2 separate regions of the Homo sapiens genome follow, and region 2 is linked to region 1. Evidence: promoter capture Hi-C in human tissues and cell types (Jung and others, 2019). All regions are on one chromosome and are shown on one strand. Each heading gives the region's core, a stretch centred on a gene start or on the middle of the fragment in contact. The rest is flanking DNA. Distances are from core to core; before and after follow the strand shown.

Region 1 (4,634 bases), core at 1,023-3,522:
AATCAACCAGATGGCCTTCCGGGTCTCAAGTCTGGCATTCCTAGACCTGCCCAGGAATCTTCTCAGCCGTACCAGCGTCCCCAGGGTCCAGGGGAAACCATCCGCCACGCTATAACCCCGAGGCTCGGCAGCATTTCTCCCCAGTTTGCATTTTGATGTTTCATATAACGTATCTACTCCCACCAGGGTACATCTCCCTCCCTCGGTAAAGATATCCTTAGCCACCAAACCCAAATGGCTCACTGGCTTCTCTCCAAGGCAAAAAGAGAGTTTCACTCCTCATCCTCTTTTTCTATCCAGTGAGACTAATTCATCATGTGTACTGGAAAGTCCCTTTTAAGTCTCAGCCAAAAGTCTTTCTTTTTTCTTGGAGCACAAATAAGCTGGGAAGAGAGAGAGAGAGTTCACCGTTTTGCAAGTTTCAGAGGTGAAAGTCACTGTCACACACACACACACAAAAAAACCAGAAAGAAAAGAAAAAAAACTGGCAAAAAGTCTGGAAATTATTCACACTGAGAAGTCTGACTGGTTGATTTCAAATTCATTCACAGCTTAATAAATCATTTGCTGGGGGAAGAGGGGAGCAGAGGAGGAGCAAGACACTCCAAAGAGAACAAGCAGGGTGGGATCCCTGGGGTCTGTGCATTCTTTGGCATCGCTGGTACCTGGTGGCTCTAGCTTTTGCTGAAGGAGGATGTATGTGGGGGTGAGTAAATAATAGAGTTTGGCTGGAGCTTCAAAGACACCTTGGCACAATCCAATTACACAGTCCCAGGATAGCAAGCCCGCTACCTCTCCCTTCCCCATTTCTTAGGCTTCCAATCTAAATATCTCAATTAGAAAAGGGCTGGCAGGAAGGAATGGGGAGAGGAAGGGAGTTTGTAGCAGGACTAGGAAAATGGAGATTGCCTGTGTTTGCTATGTATAGGCTGAAACGGTCCCATCGCTGCCTACCTACCCCCAGCCCCCCAACTCCGCCCTGGAAGCCACTGACCTTTGCCAAGAAGGCGGCGTTCCTGATGGCGCCCACCATTTCTCCCCCCTTAGGGTGCACCTTGGCCACGTGCATCCACATGCGCTCCCAGGTGTGGCTGTCGATGGGGAAGCCGCTCTTGTTGACGTGGAACAGCACCCCGCCGTCTTTGTCCTCCTCCTCTGAGCCCCCGCTGGTGGCGAGGCTCACGGGCCGCGCGTGGCTGCTCCGGGACCGGGTGCCTTTGGCGCCTTTGGGGTGGGGGCAGCGGTGAGTGTCGGCCGCGGAGCCGGTCATGGTGGGGCCTGGGCGGGGAGCGAGGTACTGGGGGCGCGCGGCGGCGGCAGCGGCGGCGGCGGCGGGGGGCGTGTGCGCGCGGGCGCGGCGAGGGGATCAGCGCCCCGCGGGGGCGGCCTTCTCCATGCCTCTCGCTGCGGCAGGACTCACCAAGGGGGAGCGGCGGCGGGAGCTCCGCGGAGGCTCCCTGCTTACCGGCGGTGCCTGAAATCAGCGGAGACACAGCTGACACCACAGCTAAGTGGACGCACAGCGGAACCGAGTGAGGGGTCCCGGAGTGTCTCCACGACACTCCCCGCTCCCCCCTGCACGCTGACAGCCTCCCTGAGAATCGATGACGGGCTTCCAGCCCTGCGATTACCTAGAAAGGCAGCTCAAAATGTGCCACGAAGCTTCACACACACCTAAACCCGGGGGGTTGGGGATGGAGGGGCACAAGGAGCTTGGGGGATGCGGAGCGCAAGATGTGGGGAGAAGAAAGACAGCTTGTGTAGCATGAAGGAACAGGAGGTTCCCGCAAGGCTCCACACATTCCTGGGTCCTCAGATGTGGCCAAGAGAGGAGGGGAGCCACGAACGTGCTGGCATGTGAGCGCCCAGAGCTGGCGCGAGGGCGCTGCAGCAGCCTTGGCTTGCAAGGCGGCCCGCTTTCTTCCAGGAAGCCCTCCCGGACCCCGGCGGGGATCTAGTGGAAAGAGCTCCATCCGCCCCCTTTTCCCCGAGTTCCAGCGCCTATCACCGGGAGGGACTGGCTGCAGGCGGGCGGCGCGCAGGAAGGGCGCGCGGCAGCTCCAAGATCCTACCTCGGGACGGTTGGCTTCATGGCTGCAGAGCCTCTCCGGGCGGCGGGAGAGCAGGGGCTGCTGCTGCTGCTGCTGGGCCTGGGGCTGGGGCTGGGGCTGCTGGGGCTTGCTGGGGCCGTCGCCTCATTCCATGTCCCATTCTCGAATGTTATTCTGTGACATATAACCAAGTCACCCGGGCAGCCGCCGATGTTCCGAATGCGTCTATTGGCCACCGCAACAAAGAGGGGCGGGTCCCGGGCTCGGGACTCTACAACCCCGGGCTCCGCGACGCTCTGATTGGCTCCAGGGGTTCTCTGGCGGGAGGGGACAGGAGTAGGGGGAGCCTGGCGGCCACGCGAAATCCGATCGCTGTGGTGTCCTGAGAGCCCCGCGGGCTGGAGCGTTTGGCCATGGGACTTAAGATCGAGTTTCCCCAGGGGTCGTGGCACTTCGAGGGTTTGCAACTGTGGAAGCAGAGGAGAAACAAAACCACCCGAGAAGTGACCCCGCGGAAGCAGAGGGTTTGGCATCAGAAGAGCATTCCCTGAGGGACGCTGGACACACTTACCTGCCTCTACCCGGGATGATGAGTTGTTCATCCTCTACCTGGGATGATGAGGGGCTGTTCATACCTATGCGTGAAATTAAATCTTTTTTAAATCCCGCATTTAAAAATTCCTCAAAATTAACAAGTGGGTGCAGCTTTGGATCCTCTGGTATTAGTCATGGTTAATAAAGTCCCTTTAAGCCCAAGTTGAGAGGAGACAATAAAACTCAAGAGGTCAGGCAGGCCCTGACTGTTCTGCCACAGCTGTTGAGTGAGAGGAGGGATGGAGAGATGCTTCCAAACCATGGTGAAGTGGGTGGCTATCCCACACTCACTACTGAAACACCTTCTCTTTCTTTTTCTTTAAGAAAGAGGAGAGCAGGTTGAGGTGGGAAGAGCACCAGACTGCTGACCTGAAGGCTGGCTCCTGGTCCAGGTTTGTCACTTTGCTCAGCTGTGTGACCCTGGACAAGCCACTTCCCTGCTCTGGGCCTTAGCTTCTCTTTCTGAAAGGAGAGCAGACCTCCCGCTCTCCAGGGTCTGTTCTGGCTGTAAGGTTCTGTGATTCCCTGACTTCCTCTCTTGTGACACTGAGGATCCTGGCCATAGCATCCTTTCTCTTTAAACTGCAGGCCAGCAGGCCAGCTCTGAGCAAAGCAGTTATGAGACCTATGCTAAGTGAACCTTGAATTAAGAAGACAGTTGTCAAAGTGCCACTGATGGCGGGTCAGTTTCTGGATGCTTATCCTGACAAGTTGCCTGTCATGGAACTGGAACTTCTCTTCCACAGGAGGGCAGAGACCCCTGAGGGGTAGTTGAGAGCCAGGGCTTGGGTGAGGAGACCTGGATTCTGGACTTAGCCCTGCACTGCTCCCTGAGACAGAGCCCATGCCAAGAACTTTATAGATTCAATAATGAGAATAGGGCAGACGTGGTGCCTCACACCTTTAAACCCAGCACTTTGGGAGAAAGAGGAGGAAGGATTACTTGAGGCCAGGAATTAGAGACTGGACCAACATAGCGAGACCTTGTCTCTACTAAATAAATATTTTGAAATTAGCCAGATGTGGTGGCACACACCTGTAGTCCCAGCTACTCAAAAGGCTGAAGTGGACATGTAGAATGAAACTGGATCCTCGTCTCTCACCTTACACAAAAATCAACTCCAGATGGATCAAAGACTTAAGTCTAAGACCTGAAACCATAAAAATTCTAGAAGATAACATGAGAAAAACACTTCTAGACATTAGCTCAGGCAAAGAAATCATGACTAAGACCTCAAAAGCAAATGTAACAAAAATGAAAATAAATAAATGAGACCTAATTAAACTAAAAAGGGTCTGCACAGCAAAAGAAATAATCAGCGGAGTAAACCGACAATCCACAGAGTGCGAGCAAATATTCACAAACTGTGCATCTGACAAAGGACCAGTATCCAGAATCTACAAGGAACCCAAACAGATCAGCCAGATAAAACCAATCCCATCAAAAAATTGGCAAAGGACATGAATAGACAATTTTCAAAAGAGGATATACAGTCAACAAACATATGAAAAAATGTTCAACATCACTAATTATCAGAGACATACAAATTAAACCACCATAAGATACCATCTTACTCTTGCGAGAATTGTCATAAAAGTCAAAAAATAATAGATTTTGATGTGGATGTGGCAAAAAGGGAACATGCATAAAACTGCTGGTGAGAATGTAAACTAGTACAACCACTATAGAAAACAGCAAGATTCCTTAAGGAACTAGAAGTAGAGCTAAAGCTACCATTCGATGCATCATTCCCATGGCAGGGTATCCACCCAAAGGAAAAGAAGTCATTATATGAAAAAGACACGTGCACATGCATGTTTATAGCAGCACAATTTGCAATTGCAAAAATATGGGACCAACCTAAGCGCCCATTAACTAATGAGTGGATAAAGAAAATGTAGTATATAGGCCGGGCGTGGTGGCTCATGTCTGTAATCCCAGCACTTTGGGAGGCCCAGGCAGGCGGATCGCGAGGTCAGGAGATCCGA
Region 2 (4,640 bases), core at 530-3,029, 190 kb after region 1:
GACTGTAATATGTAGATTTCTTTCTGAACTCTCAATTCTGTTTCATTGATCTTTGTCTGTCCTTAGGCCACTACTACACTGTCTTGATTATTATAGCTTTGTAAGAAATTTTGAAATCAGAAAGTATGAGTCTTCCAACCTTGTTCTTCTTTTTCAAGGTTGTTTTGGCTCTTCTGATCCCTTACATTCAAATTCCATATGAATTTTGGGATCAGTCAGTCAATTTCTGTCAAGAAGTCAGCTGGGATTTTGGTAGGAATTGTGTTGAAATTGTAGATCACTTTGAGAGTAATGCTATCTTAATGTTAAGTTTTCTGATCCCTGAATAATGGATGGCTTTCCATCTGGAAATTGATTTATTTCAACAGTGTTTTCCAGCTTTTAGCACTTCTTTTGTGAAACTTATTCCTAAATACTTTATTCTTTTGATGCCCTTGTAAATTGAATTATTTTTAAATTTTATTTTTGGTTTCTTCTTTGCTACTGTGTAGAGATAGAATTAATTTTTGTATATTAATCTTGTATCTTACAACCATGTTAAACTCATTTATTAGTTCTAATAGTTGTTTAATGGATGTTTTAAAGGATTTTATATATAAAAGATCATGTCATCTGCAAACAGATATTTTACTTCTTTTCTTTCTAATCTGGATGCCTGACATTCATTGTTGATGAGCAGTGTCTTGAGAATCTGATTACCATTCCTTTATAGATATTGTTCTTTCTCTTCTGACTTTTCGGATTTTCTCTATATTCTTAATGCTCTGAAGTTTACCACAGTATAGCTAGATGTTTATTTTCTAGTATGGTGTTTGATATGTACATTTTCTGATTTATTTCACACTGAAAATAATATTATTGCTTTTTCTTGCTTGTATGAACAATACATGCACATTCCAAAAATGTTAGAAGCATAAGAAACAAGTTTAAATCACATGAAATCATATGCCCAGAGATAAACACTATTAGCATGTTTATGACCAGTAACCAGTATTATGATATATTGCATGATGCCTGTACATCCTCAGTCCATCAGTAGATCCTGCTGCCTTTACCTTGGAAACATATTTCAAATCCTGCTGCTTACCAACCAAATCTGTCTCTCCTGCTCTTATCCATGTCACCATATTCGCTTAGGACCACTATAATAGCTTTCTCACTGATTAATATGGTTTGGATGTTTTGTTCCTTCTAAATCTCATGGTTGAAATGGGACCTTCAATGTTGTAGATGGACCTAGTGCAAGGTGTCTGGGTCTTGGGGGCAGATCCCTCATCCGTGGCTTGGTGCCCTCCTTGTGGTAATGAGTGAGCTCTCCCTCTGAATTCACCTGAGAGCTGGTTGTTTTAAAGACTGTGGCACCTCCCCACATCCACATCCTTGCTCCATCTCTTGCCATGGATGTACCGTTCCTCCTTTGGCTTCCATCATGATTGAAAGCTCACTGAGGCCCTACCAGAAGCTGAGCAAATGTTGGTGCTATGCTTGTACAGCCTGCCGAACTGTGAGCCAATTAAACCTCTTTTCTTTATAAATTACCCAGTCTTACATATTCCTTTATAGTAATAAAACAGACTAACACCCTGGTCTCCTTCCATCCAGTTCTACTTTTCACACAGCATCCAAACAATTTCTTTTAAAGCATAATCAGATTATGTCACTCCCTGTTGAAGGCCCTCCAGTGGCTCCCCATTATAATTCCTTTGGTCTAAGAGGCCCTCAATGATATGGTCCCCGGCTGCTTCTCTGATCTCATCTCTGACAGTGTTCACTTACCATCTCACCCTCGCTTACTGTGCTCCACTAACACTAATATTCTTGCTATTTCAGGACATACCAAGAACACACTGGCCCTACGACTTTCATACTCGCAACTCCCTGTATTTGAAACTGCTCTCCGAAACTACCTGCCTGACTCTTGCACTTCATTCAGCTCTCTGTTCAAAGTGTCACTTCATCTGATACACCTTACAACCTGTGTCAGATTCTCTTATGACTCCCTTGATCATACTGTATCCCTTTAACCTGCTTTATTTTTCTCTGCCACTTACAGATATTATATAATTTCTCCTTATTTTCCTCTTCCCTCCCCACAGTATTGTAAGCTCCCTGTGAGCAAGAACTTTGGGATGCCCAGTTTTCCCTCTTTTTTCTTTTCTTTTCTTTTTTTTGAGACGGAGCCTTGCTCTGTCGCCCAGGCTGGAATGCAGTGGCACGCTCTCAGCTCACTGCAACCTCCACCTCCCAGGTTCAAGTGATTCTCCTGCCTCAGCCTCTAGACTAGCTGGGATTACAGGCACCCGCCATCACACCTGGCTAACTTTTGCATATTTAATAGAGACAAGGTTTCACCATATTGGCCAGGCTGGTTTCAAAGTCTTGAACTCGGGTGATCCTCCCACCTCGGCCTCCCAAAGTTCTGGGATTACAGGCATGAGCCACTGCGCCCAGCCCCTGACTCTTAAGATTATTTTCTGACATGGTACACTCAATAAATATTTATATTTTTGCAAACAATACATAATTTTATATAAATAGGATTGAATTACATATTACATTGTCCCTTTTAAAAACCAAAGTCGGCCGGATGCAGTGGCTCACACCTGTAAGCCCAGCACTTTGGGAAGCTGATCGCTTGAGCACAGGAGTTTGAGACCAGCTAGGGCAACATGGCAAAACCCCGTCTCTACAAAAAATACAAAAATTAGCCAAGCATGGTGGTGCATGCCTGTAGTTCCAGCTACTCGGGAAGCTGCAGAGGGAGGATCATTTGAACCCAGGAGGTCAAGGCTGCAGTGAGCTATGGTCCTGCCACTACACTCCAGCCTGAGTGACAGAGTGAGAACCTGTCTCAAAAAAACCCAACAAGGATAGCATTGTATTTTTACTTTTTGTTTTTGGTTTCTTCTCTCTCTTCCTGTCACCCCTTTAGATATCCAACATTAACCTGGTATGAATTCATTTATCCTTTTTTCTGTGCTTATATAATTGTTACAGGAATAAATATGCACTGGACATTTTGGGGGCATAATTTACAGAAAATTTATTCATGTGTTCAAATTATCTGCAATTTCCTAGCTTAAGTTTATGGTAGACATCCTCCATTCGACTGCCGTAGCTCTAACCTTATTGTTTTAAATTGTGGTTATCTTTTAAATTGTATTTCTTGTGCTTTTAATAAATGCAAGCTTAATGTAAAATTTTTAATAATTACATATAGATATATATGAAAATATATACATATTCATATTTATATGAAATATACCATAACTTCGCCTCCCAATCTGTCACATCCCACACATCTTCAAATAGGCAACTATTATCAGTTTGCTGTGTCTAATTTTAGATCTTTATCAATGCATTTGTATGCACATAGGTAGACACAGGGGTTTTTTTAGTTGTTTATATAAATATTACATAATGCATTTTATTCTGTCATTGTTTTTCTTTTTTCACTCAACATGTAACATAGTTCAACTCCATGGTTTTTATTGGTAATTTTTTTCTTGCTTATATACACAGAGACAATTTTATTTAAATAATATTATATATGTATTTTTGTTTTTTGTGAGAGATTATTTGGTTTTGCTAGATTCCTCTTTTCTCCCATCTTCCATTAACATCTCCATATATACTTTTATCTGAGGACTCCTATATTCTAGAAAATCTTTAACCTAATCCTTCAACTTTGCTTCTTTCTCATTTCTTCTATTTTTGTATTTTATGTTTTTATTTTATAACCTATTTTTCTTTTGCAATGTCTTATGATTTTCTTTAGCTATTGGAGCTGTGTAGCATTTTAAAGTCATTTTTATATTGCTCTATTTTCATTTCATCTGCAGTAAATTCCTCTCCCTGACATTGGTTATACTGGCTGTCTTTCATGGTTTTAATTTCTTCATGTATTTTAGACTTTTGATTTGCAAGTGCTTCTTGACTAGAATTTTTCATGTGCATATCTGTCTACCACTGCTTTCACTCCCTCTGTCTAGTAGGTTTGGTTGCCTTCCATCTGGCCCCAAACAATCCCAGGCTGGAGCCATATCTTAACACTGGCAACAGAGGGCCTCTGTCCCAGTGTGACACTGGAGATTGGTCCAGGCCCAGGCTTGGAGGCATTATCTGCTTCCCATCATTTCTGGTTTAGCTTTAAGTAAGCTTTGCTTCCTGGCAGCGGTTAGGAGCAGTTTTGTCTTTTGAGTTGGTTTTTTTTTTTTTTTTGAGACAGAATTTTACTCTTGTTGCCCAGGCTGGAATGTAATGGTTGCTCACTGCAACCTCTGCCTCCTGGGTTCAAGTGATTCTCCTGCCTCATCCTCCTGAGTAGCTGGGATTACAGGTGCCCACCACCACGCCCGGATAATTTTTGTATTTTTAGTAGAGGCGGGGTTTCACCATGTTGGCCAGGCTAGTCTCCAACTCCTGACCTCACGTGATCCACCCATCTCAGCCTCCTTAAGTGCTGGGATTACAGGTGTGAGCCACCGCGCCGGGCTGGTTAGTGGCAGTTTTTTTCAGCCACCTTTTCAGGGTGGGTAAACTCTGTCTCAGCCCTCGGTTTCAAACAGTGAAGCTGTCTCTTCGTTTCCTGTTCTTCTGGAGCACTTCGAACACCTTTTATCTTGCAGGAGGCCAATTCC

The links. The method cuts DNA at HindIII sites, captures the fragments that hold promoters and counts their contacts. A contact is called where the count stands out against the background at its distance.
Region 2: a contact is called between a fragment that was not itself captured here and the fragment with the promoter of VASH2 in region 1, in 1 of the 25 tissues and cell types used here (small bowel).

The regions. Positions count from the first base shown.
Region 1 is chr1:212,948,179-212,952,812 of GRCh38, reverse strand. It overlaps VASH2 (vasohibin 2), which reads right to left and starts at 2,272. Exons shown (of 8, transcript NM_001301056.2): 1 at 2,073-2,272; 2 at 995-1,474. The coding sequence starts at 1,270. RefSeq lists enhancers at 1,567-1,616, 2,137-2,286. The HindIII fragment of the contact is 12,745 bases long and covers 1-4,634 here.
Region 2 is chr1:212,754,351-212,758,990 of GRCh38, reverse strand. The region is part of intron 4 of NSL1 (NSL1 component of MIS12 kinetochore complex); the gene reads left to right. Among named protein-coding and RNA genes, the nearest start is that of NSL1, 35 kb to the left of the region's middle. The HindIII fragment of the contact is 3,788 bases long and covers 1-3,673 here.